Linked DNA regions of Homo sapiens: regions 1 and 2 are each linked to region 3. The links are contacts of gene promoters, found by promoter capture Hi-C in blood cells and fetal thymus (Javierre and others, 2016). All regions are on one chromosome and are shown on one strand. The core of a region is centred on a gene start or on the middle of the fragment in contact, and the rest is flanking DNA. Distances in the headings are between cores, read along the strand shown. Region 1 overlaps DNAJA2 (DnaJ heat shock protein family (Hsp40) member A2). Region 2 has its middle 56 kb from the start of DNAJA2-DT. Region 3 holds the start of ITFG1 (integrin alpha FG-GAP repeat containing 1).

Evidence for each region. Contacts are between HindIII fragments. The CHiCAGO score rates a contact against its expected background, and 5 or more counts as called.
Region 1: a fragment that was not itself captured here is called in contact with the fragment with the promoter of ITFG1 in region 3 in 1 of 17 cell types (naive CD8 T cells); the score reaches 5.0 in naive CD8 T cells.
Region 2: a fragment that was not itself captured here is called in contact with the fragment with the promoter of ITFG1 in region 3 in 1 of 17 cell types (neutrophils); the score reaches 5.3 in neutrophils.

What each region holds. Positions count from the first base shown.
Region 1 is chr16:46,954,769-46,958,142 of GRCh38, reverse strand. It overlaps DNAJA2 (DnaJ heat shock protein family (Hsp40) member A2), which reads left to right. Exons shown (of 9, transcript NM_005880.4): 9 at 923-2,781. The coding sequence ends at 1,114. Among named protein-coding and RNA genes, the nearest start is that of DNAJA2, 17 kb to the left of the region's middle. The HindIII fragment of the contact is 197 bases long and covers 1,295-1,491 here.
Region 2 is chr16:47,028,274-47,031,587 of GRCh38, reverse strand. No RefSeq gene overlaps it. Among named protein-coding and RNA genes, the nearest start is that of DNAJA2-DT, 56 kb to the right of the region's middle. The HindIII fragment of the contact is 9,259 bases long and covers 1-3,314 here.
Region 3 is chr16:47,459,458-47,463,025 of GRCh38, reverse strand. It overlaps ITFG1 (integrin alpha FG-GAP repeat containing 1), which reads left to right and starts at 1,963. Exons shown (of 18, transcript NM_030790.5): 1 at 1,963-2,188. The coding sequence starts at 1,981. PHKB (phosphorylase kinase regulatory subunit beta) reads right to left here and starts at 1,695. Exons shown (of 31, transcript NM_000293.3): 1 at 1,600-1,695. The coding sequence starts at 1,675. RefSeq lists a silencer at 1,585-2,054. The HindIII fragment of the contact is 8,409 bases long and covers 1-3,568 here.

The DNA of each region.
Region 1 (3,374 bases), core at 144-2,643, 500 kb after region 3:
GTTGCTATGTTGTCCAGACTGGTCTCAAGCAATCCTCCTGCCTCCCGAAGTTCTGGGATTGCAGTCGTGAGCCACTGCACCCAGCCGACTTCAAGTTTCTTAATAGTCATGTTACTTTCAATTTTAAAGTATATTTGTGTGATTGGTAGGCTTTCCTAGTTGTTAGGAAATGGGGTATTGCTGGTGTAAATGTTGATGGGGCCAAGCAGGGAATTGTAGAGGAGTAAAGTAGACCCGGTGTGGGTGGTGATGAGGAGTAGCACTCCCTGGAGAGAACAGGTTCCTCATTTGCAGAGGGCAGGACCACTACCCCTTTATCGTAAGCTGGTGTCCATGCCGGATGCAGGAAGGTGTGTCTCCTGTAGAAACTTTCTAATGTTTAAGTATTGGCAGATAATGACCTTTTTTTTGGTTCTTAAAGCAATAGATGGGTTGCACAAAAGATGTCTGCAGAATTTGGCCTGTGAGTGATGAGTTTGTGATCTTTTACTTAGAGTTCAAAGTCCAGTCCACATTCCTTTTTTTAACTTTTTTTTTTTTGAGATGGAGTCTTGCTCTGTCACCCAGGCTGGAGTGCAGTGGCACAATCTCAGCTTACTGCAACTTCCACCTCCCAGGTTCAAGCGATTCTCCTGCCTCAGCCTTCTGACTAGCTAGGATTACAGGTACCCACCACCATGCCTGGCTAATTTTTTGTATTTTTAGTAGAGACAAGGCTTCACCATGTTGTCCAGGCTGGTCTCATCTCCTGACCTCATTATCCGCCCGCCTCAGCCTTCCAAAGTGCTGGGTGGGATTATAAGCATGAACCACCACACCCAGCCCCTTTTTAAACTCTTAAACAGACACTGGATTCTATGTATCAAAAGGAAAGTTGATGAAAATATTACAACCAACCTGGTTTTTGTTTGTTTTAATAAAGGAACTAGAAGATCTTCTGCCATCTAGACCGGAAGTTCCTAACATAATTGGAGAAACAGAGGAGGTAGAGCTTCAGGAATTTGATAGCACTCGAGGCTCAGGAGGTGGTCAGAGGCGTGAAGCCTATAATGATAGCTCTGATGAAGAAAGCAGCAGCCATCATGGACCTGGAGTGCAGTGTGCCCATCAGTAAACTCTGCAAACAAATTGCACAGGTGGATTTTCTTTCCACATTTGCCTGATTTGTTCTCAGCAATCCAGCTGGAGTGTCTTATCAATCCAGATGAACTGAGGGACATCTGTTGGTCTATGTATAACTTTTAAAATTGGTATAGTATCTACAGAGTGTATAATTTAAACTAACCACAAAGCTTTACATCTTCATTTTGACTGTTCCATAGCAGAATAAAGCACTTGAAAGGAAACAAGACTCCCTTTCACACATGGATTATTATAAGTTTCAATCCTGGTATCTGTGCTTGATTTTTATCAGTTTTGTGTAGATTTTTATGTTTCATATTTTAAATTTAAATCCCACATTGTAAAGTTTGTACAATTTGTCCTGAAGCTTTGTGTTTGGCTGCACCTGCATAAGCTGCTACAAATAGAATAAAGAATTTCATAGCCTGTATCTATCATTTAGATGCATGGAAAAAAATGGGCTTTGCACACAATGGGTTTGGAGCTGACTGGGAACAATGGAAAAAATTACATTAGCTGTGGTTGTAAAGTTTTTTTGTTTTTGGTTTTGTTTTTTTTTTCTTTTTTCTTTTTTTTTTTTTTTACCATCTTGTGAAAGGTTTCTGAAACTCGATAATAAAAAGCGGTTGGTGTAAATTATTCTTTTGTGTCACATTTTTAGAAGGAAAAACATAAAAGAATGTATCCTTAGTACTGGTTCTTAAACAGCCCATAAAAACCCATTGGCCTGAAGCTTATATCTCAGGCCTATGCCCATCTTATAGTCTTGGAAGACAAAAGGCTGGTAGAGACAGTCTTCAGTGGCTTCAGTGATGCTCTGTAGAGGCCAGGGTGTCTTGAGTGCTGTAACTCCCAAGCACTGGGCTAGCCTGACTTCTGTATCTCCCTACCACCACCCCCTTAAAAAAATAAGGTAACAGCAAATCTATAGTAAAACCATGTCTGCATAGAACGTGTTCAAATCCTCTGTTTTCATTAAATGTAAAAGATGCTGTCTCCATTAAGTTGAATATTTGGAATTGGAGAAGCCATTGATTATTATTTTGAGTTTCTGTAATGTTTTATAGAAAAGTAAGATGCTTATTCAGAATTTAAGAATGAAGGCAACTGAAATATGCATTGTTGTAGTTATTTATATTTCAAACTAAAAATAAGCAAAAAAAAAAGGCTGGTTTGAGAAAAATCAGGTAAAATTGATGAAACGGATGTTGTGTTTCTCTTTCCATCATCTGGTTTTTACCATTTCACTCAGTAGGTATTTTTAGAACACACTTATTTGAGGAAAGAGACATCAGATGCACAATTTTACATTTATAAAGGAACAAATGGGGAAAACTGAAAACTAAAAATTTTAAATGTATTAAATGCCATCCCTGAGCCTAAATCTAGTATTTGTAGTTTATTTCTAGGTCTGCTAGAACCTGAAAACCTGAATGAAAAAAGGTGTGCTGACACTAATCAAGTCCTGTGAGGTTTAAATTATTGACCTATCCACTCTACCTCCATTGTACAAAAAATATTTTACAACAAGCCTGGGTAAGATTCAACAGCATAGTAGTTTTGTATCCAAGGTTACTTCCCCACAACCACTTTAAACATAAGAAATGTGGTGGCAATATAAAGTTTGTAGCCTTTCCAATAAAGGTTTATAAAACAGTTGTTCAGTGTAGTCTGTCTTTCATTTCTACCCAGGTGTTTTGACTGTAGGCAAGAAAACTACTGGAAGAGAGTTTCTGTTAAGGTGTGTTATTTCACTTGGTCTCCTTGCTCTAGTTTGTAGAGCACCTGTCGAGAGAACCAACCATACAGTGTCACCAGCACAGATAATTTTTTGTAACAGCTTTATTCCAGATATGATTTACATACCATAAAATTTACCACTTTAAAAAATTTGCCACAATTCAGTTGATTTCAGTATATTCAGCCATCTCCACTAATTTCAGAACATTTTCATCAAAGAAGAAACCCTCTATCCATTAAGTCACTTTCTGTTCCATTCTCTCCTCAACTCCTGGTGTAATCACTAATGGCTAATTCTGCTTCTAAATATTTGCCTATTTTGGACATGTTGTATAAATGAGATCAAAATATGTGGCCTTTAGTGATGCATTCATTTAGCTTAATGTTTTCAGGGTTTATCCTTGTCGGCAGCATGGATCAGCACAGTAACAGCAGGGACCTATTCTGAGAAGTGCATGGTTAGGCGGTTTCATCATGCAAACAGAGTGTACTTCCACAAACCTAGGTGGTGT
Region 2 (3,314 bases), core at 159-2,658, 430 kb after region 3:
GTTCGACACCAGCCTAGCCAAAATGGTGAAACCCTATCTCTACTAAAAATACAAGAAAATAGCTGGGCATGGTGGCGCGCACCTGTAATCCCAGCTACTTGGGAGGCTGAGGCAGGAGAATCCCTTGAACCCGGGAGGCAGAGGTGGCAGGGAGCCGAGACAGCACGACTGCACTCCAGCCTGGGTGACAGAGTGAGACTCTGTCTCAAAAGAAAATTAAAAATAAATAAATAAAAAGTTAAATTAAAAATGGGGCTGGGCGCTGTGGCTCACACCTGTAATCCCAGCACTTTGGGAGGCTGAGGTGGGCAGATCATGAGGTCAAGAGATCGAGACCATCCTGGCCAACATGGTGAAACCCCATCTCTACTAAAAATACAAAAATTAACTGGGCCTGGTGGCACACGCCTGTAGTCCCAGCTACTTGGGAGGCTGAGATGGGAGGATTGCTTGAGCCCAGGAGTTTGAGATCAGCCTGGGTCACATAGTGAAACCCCGTCTCTACAAAAACATACAGAAATCAGCTGGGCCTGGTGGCACATGCCTTGGTCCCAGCTACTCAGGAGGCTGAGGTGGGAGGATCACCTGAGCCCGGGAGGTGAAGGTTGCAGTGAGCTGAGATTGCACCACTGCACTCCAGCCTAGGTGACAGAGCAAGGTGACTGTCTCAAAAAAAAAAAAAAAAAATGCCTGGCACAAAGCAAACACTAAATAAATAAAAGCTATTATGGAGGGAATAATGCTGTTCCTTCCAAGCGTCCAGTACAATTGTCAATCCAGGAAGCTCAGCCATTTTAACCTGTGCCTCCAAATGCCCCTGATTTCCCTTAGTTTCTGATCGCTGAAGAAGATCCAGGCCAGCCAGGAGCTGTCTGGGGGACATCGCCTACAGGCAATCCCCTCACCCAATTATAGTGAGAAGCCAGTGAGCCTTGGAGATATTGAGGCTTACAAGCACAAAGCATGATTATCGCATGTTTAGGGGACCCAGGGCAAGAGATGTCCCTCAAGTGAATTGGAAGCCCCAAGGCCTACACCAGGCTGCTCAACTGGTTCCATCCACCTGCTCTTGGCCTTTTTTTTTTTTTTTTTTTTTTTTTTTTTGAGACAAAGTCTTGCTCTGTCACCCAGGCTGGAGTGCAGTGACACGATCTCGGCTTACTGCAACCTCTGCCTCCTGGGTTCAAGCAATTCTCCTGCCTCAGCCTCCTGAGTAGCTGGGATTACAGGCGCCCACCACTTCACCCAGCTAGTTTTTATATTTTTAGTAGAGACAGGGTTTCACCTTGCTGGCCAGGCTGGTCTTGAACTGCTGACCTGAAGTGATCTGCCTGCCTCGGCCCCCCCAAGTGCTGGGATTACAGGCCTGAGCCACCATGCCTGGCCTGCTGTTGGCTTTTGAGTGGGTGGACACACATTTAATTAGGTTCAATTGGAGGTTATCAGAAAGAACCAGGATGTCAAACACTTCCTCTCTGAGATTCAGCCAGTGGCCTGACCTGCTATGTGGCAATCTGATTATGGTTTACTTGGGCATCATGTCCACAGAAATCCCAAAGGGCGGTGGCGTCAGTGGCATCATTTGCTGGAGCAAAGCATCCTTGATGCCAATCCTCTGAGACACTTGACATGTGCTGTCTCATCAACTCACTCCAAAGTTACTCTTCTTAAAGGTTCTGAAGCTCAGAACAGTCAAGACAGTTGCTCAAGGTCACACAGGCAAGATTGAAAACCAGATCTGCCTGGCCTAAATTCTTTCTCCAAGGTCCCATCCAGTGACCTGAATCCCAAACTCAGGGTTCCTGGACCTCATCCTCCCACTCCTCATTCAGTACATCTGGGAACGGGCCTGAGAATTTGTGTTTTAAAAGTTTCCTGGGCAACTCTGAAGATCAGCTACATTTAAGAACCATTTATAGGAAGCCATTGTTTCCCTAAATCCAAACAAAATGGCCCTATGAGGCTGTTTGTGGCCTTGGCCCAGTTTAACCTCTGGCTTTATACAATAGGCTAACAAGTCAGTGGCTAACTCATAAATTATGCCTGATGTTATTTCAAATCAAGCCTTTTGGCACCTCAATATATAACGTCCTTTATTTACTGACGAAATCTCTCTATTCTAAAAGAGCACTTATTCCATGACTACGAACACTGCAGACCCCTTCAGCCCTGTGCGCTTCTCACACTATAACCTTCTAGAGGCAGAAATTGAGCCCCTATCATCTCACCCTGCACAGAAAGACATTTCATACGTTTCTTACCCCAGCACACGTGACTTGATAGGAAAAGGCATTTTCCTAGTCAACCTCCAATTTTACAGCAGCAATTTTGGTTCCTGGAGTTCTGCAGGTTCCTTTCTGGCAGGAAGATTAGACCAAGAGCTGCATTAAAGGTACAGTTCTGTGCCCTCCAAGGCACTAATAGACTGGAATCATGTCAGAGCTTTCTAGAGCAGAACTATGTCTACAGTCAGAACTGAGTCTCAACCAATTCAGGAGACAAGTTGCTACTTATGAAAAGAAGACTCATTGAGTTTATAAATGGATTTTTTATGTTCTTGCCCAGCTTCTGTTTCCAGCACTGAAGCGTGCTAGATGACGCTTCTAACAAATGCCTTTCCCGATTCAGAAACTGAGCTTTAGATAAGAACCACTTTTACTAAGCCAAAGAGTCTATCTAAACAGTAGCTTATTTCATAAAGACTGTATTTCTCTCTATTAAAACACTATAACCCTATTGTGTTCAACTATCGCTCACAGAAAGCCTTAAGGAGCAATAACTTAGTGGCAAAAGTAAATGTTTAAATGCTCTATAAAAATATATATATAGTTATATAGCCATACTTAAACATTTAAAAATAAATGGCTGGCTCTCCTGTTGAGCCTCTTTCCTGCTGAGTTGGCCAGAAAAGATATTTTTTTTAAGACTTGAAGGTTTTTTTTTTTTTTTTAGGCAGAGTGACACTCTGTCACCCGGGCTGGCATGCAGTGGCATGATCTCGGCTCATTGCAATCTCTGCCTCCTGGATTCAAGCGATTCTCGTGCCTCAGCCTCCCAAGTAGCTGGAATTACTGGCACCTGCCACCACGCCTGGGTAATTTTTGTATTTTTAGTAGAGATGGGGTTTCACCCTGTTGGCCAGGCTGGTCTCGAACTCCTGATCTCAGGTAATCCACCCGCCTTGGCCTCCCAAAGTGCTGGGATTACAGATGTGAGCCACTATGCCTGGCCAGAATTTATTTTTAAATCTGGAAAAGGCAGATAAAATATCAGCAGTATAAATGATGCCAAAACAATTGAATAAAGAGTAGAAC
Region 3 (3,568 bases), core at 714-3,213:
CCACATCGTTAGTAGCCAACTCAGTATTTCTATATCACACAAAAACAATTTAAGAAAAAGTGTGAAACAAATACATGTGACTATTCCAAGTCACTTTATTGATTCTTAGTAGTACTAAGGACTACTTTTTGAAAAAATTATCTCATACTTCATAGATGGTAATTTTACTATAACCCTAAGTATATAAAGCTGAACTTTTTGTAAGGTATAAAAAAACAGAGTGTTCGGTGTATGATTTCTGAAATTAGATTTTCAGAAATTAGATTTACTTTCTCCAAAAAAAAAAAAAAAAAAGTCAGTGTGCACAACAGACAACTAAGAACTTCATAAATAGGAAAAGCCCAAAACGTAAGGAGAACATATTAGGTGAGAAAATAATTTTTTTTTTTTTTGAGACGGAGTCTCACTCTGTCGCCCACGCTGGAGTGCAGTGGTGCGACCTCCACTCACTGCAGCCTCCGCCTCCCAGGTTCAAGCAATTCTTCTGCCTCAGACTCCCGAGTAGCTGGGGTTACAGGCGCCCGCCACCACGCCCAGGTAATTTTTGTATTTTTAGTAGAGATGGGGTTTTACCAGGTTGGCCAGGCTGGTCTCGAACTCCTGACCTCAGGTGATCCGCCCGCCTCGGCCTCCCAAAGTGCTGGGATTACAGGCGTGAGCCACCGCGCCCGTCCGAAAATAATTTCTTAATATCAATGCAAGTGCAAAGTTAATTTTCCTAGCTAACACCTTTCACACCCACCCCCAATAATGACACTTCATCAATTCTTTAAAAGGGAAGCTCCTTAGCTGAAAACCTGCATTCCGCCTTTCACCTTTCCTGTTTAAGTGCATGCCTTTTGTTCAAGATTATATCCAGCCAACCAGGAATACAGGAAGTTTTAATAACGCCACAAGTCATGACGTTGCAATTTGAACAAGTCAGTTCGGGACACTTGGAACTGTTAAAACTGCCTGCAAGGCACCTTCTGACCTCTATGCTTTCGGGTTTGGAAACCACACAACCTGGGGCCACTTAAGAAGCCCTTTTCTTTCTGGGCCCTAACTATACTCTTCAATATCTGAGGCCCAGTCTCCTTCAGTTTCTGCTAGATAGATGACAGGTCTACTGCTTAGAACCTGTGGGGAATGTAAAAGGGATATAAGACATAAAGCAAGGAGCCCAGACGCCGGCTTTCTGCAGCCAGATCGTAGTTACATCTGACTTGGTCTGATTAAGCTATCTGACTTTTGCAGAGAACATTCACAGGAAAGACACATTCACAGGGAAGACACATTCCCTTTCCCAGGAATGTGCCGCCGCCCGATTTTTAAGTTAGAAGACTCTAAGGGAAGTCCGGACCGCTGCCTACTTTCCGAGTGGGGCTCACAAGCGGAATAGAGTCGGGGGCACACGCAGAGTGGAGCTGGCTCTGCCACCTAATTTTTAGAGGTGGAGGAAGATATTAGAAACAAGGCCAGGGCCGCCACCTGCTTTCTAAGGAGGAACTCGGGGCACAGGTTCATTCCCAGGGCCCCCACCTGCCTCCCGCCAAGGCGCTTGAGGCGAAGCACCACCCAAGGTACTCGGGTGGGGGGCGGCGCCCCAGCCAGCCAAACCTGAGCGCTTGGTCCGAGCTCTTCGCTCCAAGACCTTCCAGCTCACTTCTGCCGTGAGTCCCGCCGCCCCCGCCATCGCGCTCCGGTCGCCGCCTTGGCCACCGCCCCCGGGGCCGCCTGTCAGCAATGCCGGGCCACGCCCCCCGCACGACACTGTCGGGAGGCGCGCCTGCCGGAAGTGAGCGTGAGGGCGGCTTTCACCCTAGCTCCACTGCTTTTTTAGCGTCGGAAGGGCAGCCCTAGTGGGAGAGAGAAAAAGGAGCCGGCAGCGGCTCTTACGCGTCCCGGGGCTGCGCGCCACTCTCTCGGCCGGTAACGCGGTGCTTTGCGGCTGTCGTCAAGCGCGGCGTTGGGCCGGCGGGCGGGGGCTGAGGGGCTGCCATGGCGGCGGCGGGCCGGCTCCCGAGCTCCTGGGCCCTCTTCTCGCCGCTCCTCGCAGGGCTTGCACTACTGGGAGTCGGGCCGGTCCCAGCGCGGGCGCTGCACAACGTCACGGCCGAGCTCTTTGGGGCCGAGGCCTGGGGCACCCTTGCGGCTTTCGGGGACCTCAACTCCGACAAGCAGACGGATCTCTTCGTGCTGCGGGAAAGTCAGTGCTTGCCGGGCCCTCCCTCTGTTCGCTGTCCGTGTGCCTCTCCCGGTGTTCCCCAAACCCATTGCCCAATGGCCGGTCCTTCTGCATTTCCTGGTCCTTCTCTCCCAGCCCTGTGGCCTTCCCTTTAGCATTCTTAACAGCTTGTCCTTTTGCACCACCCTTTCCAACCCCAGGTTCTGACCCAGCTACCCTACAGTTTGACCTACCCTCAAAAGCCCTGACAGCACCTCAGTTTTGTTCCTAAGAAGTCTGCGGCCCTCACCCAGTCACCTTACCCCCTCCTCCCCATGGAATCACCTGTTTTCCAAAGTGCTTCCTGATTCCTAGGAATCTTTGTAGCTTGCCTCAACGTTCGCTCCCAAGGCCCACTCATTCCTTTCTATTTTGCTTCAGTCTTCCTTCCCCGTTGATGAACATGAAAAGGTGCAACCTGACAATCTCTTCTCATAGGGGGCTTCTTCTTGCCTCCCCACCTACCTAATTCGCCCACCCCTTTCTTTGTCAAGGCCACAACTTTCTATGAAGCGAATGTACCCTTCCAAGGGCCTAAACACTAAACAGCTCACACAAGCATTTTGCAGGGACCACTGATAAACCCAATGCCTCCTTGGGAAAGCAGTCTCAAACTACAGAAATTTCTCTCTTGAGCTGCCTGTTCTTTCGTGTACTCCTTCCTCATCTTGGTCATCACCTTAGTGTTCCAAATGTCTACTTTCTTTGCTAACTTGTTCTTGGAAATTCTTTGCTTTGACAATCGTTAAACTAACTTTTTTGTAAATCTTGATGCTGACAGTGGGCATTAGGGGGTCTTAGGGTTCTTGAGTACCTACAGAAGCAGGTGCTGCTTAAAGATCAATGCTGTGAAGGAAGGAAGGAAGAGCTACTCAGAGCTTGCCTGACAGGATCCTGAACCAGACTTCTTGGAGCCCTTGCGGGGATGCAGGAACCTCTTACAAACCCTGAATATTTTCCCAATCTTTTTGACTCCTCATTTTGCAGTGTACTGCCAAACCTGTTGCTGCTGTGTCCAAACTGGATACAGAGAGTAGCCTTGACTTTAAAGATGGCCTGTGTTTGATTAAACAATTCCAAAAGTCTGTCTCAATGAGTGCTAATTGAGCTCCAAGAATGTGTCACCCTCTGGAGGATGGCCCCATAGGAGGAGGGTCTTGGAGGATTCAGCATTTTGTGCTCACATGCTTAATTATGTCTTTGTCAGATATCTACAATGGGAGTCCCTGCATCCTTGGTGTGATGCATCTGTGTAATGAACCAAACAGCCTTACAAGGGACAGCATTGCTAGATTCGGGGAAGACAAGTCTTGACATGTAGTATAGTTATAAGGCATCTTTATATGGTTCTTTTAAGTCAAC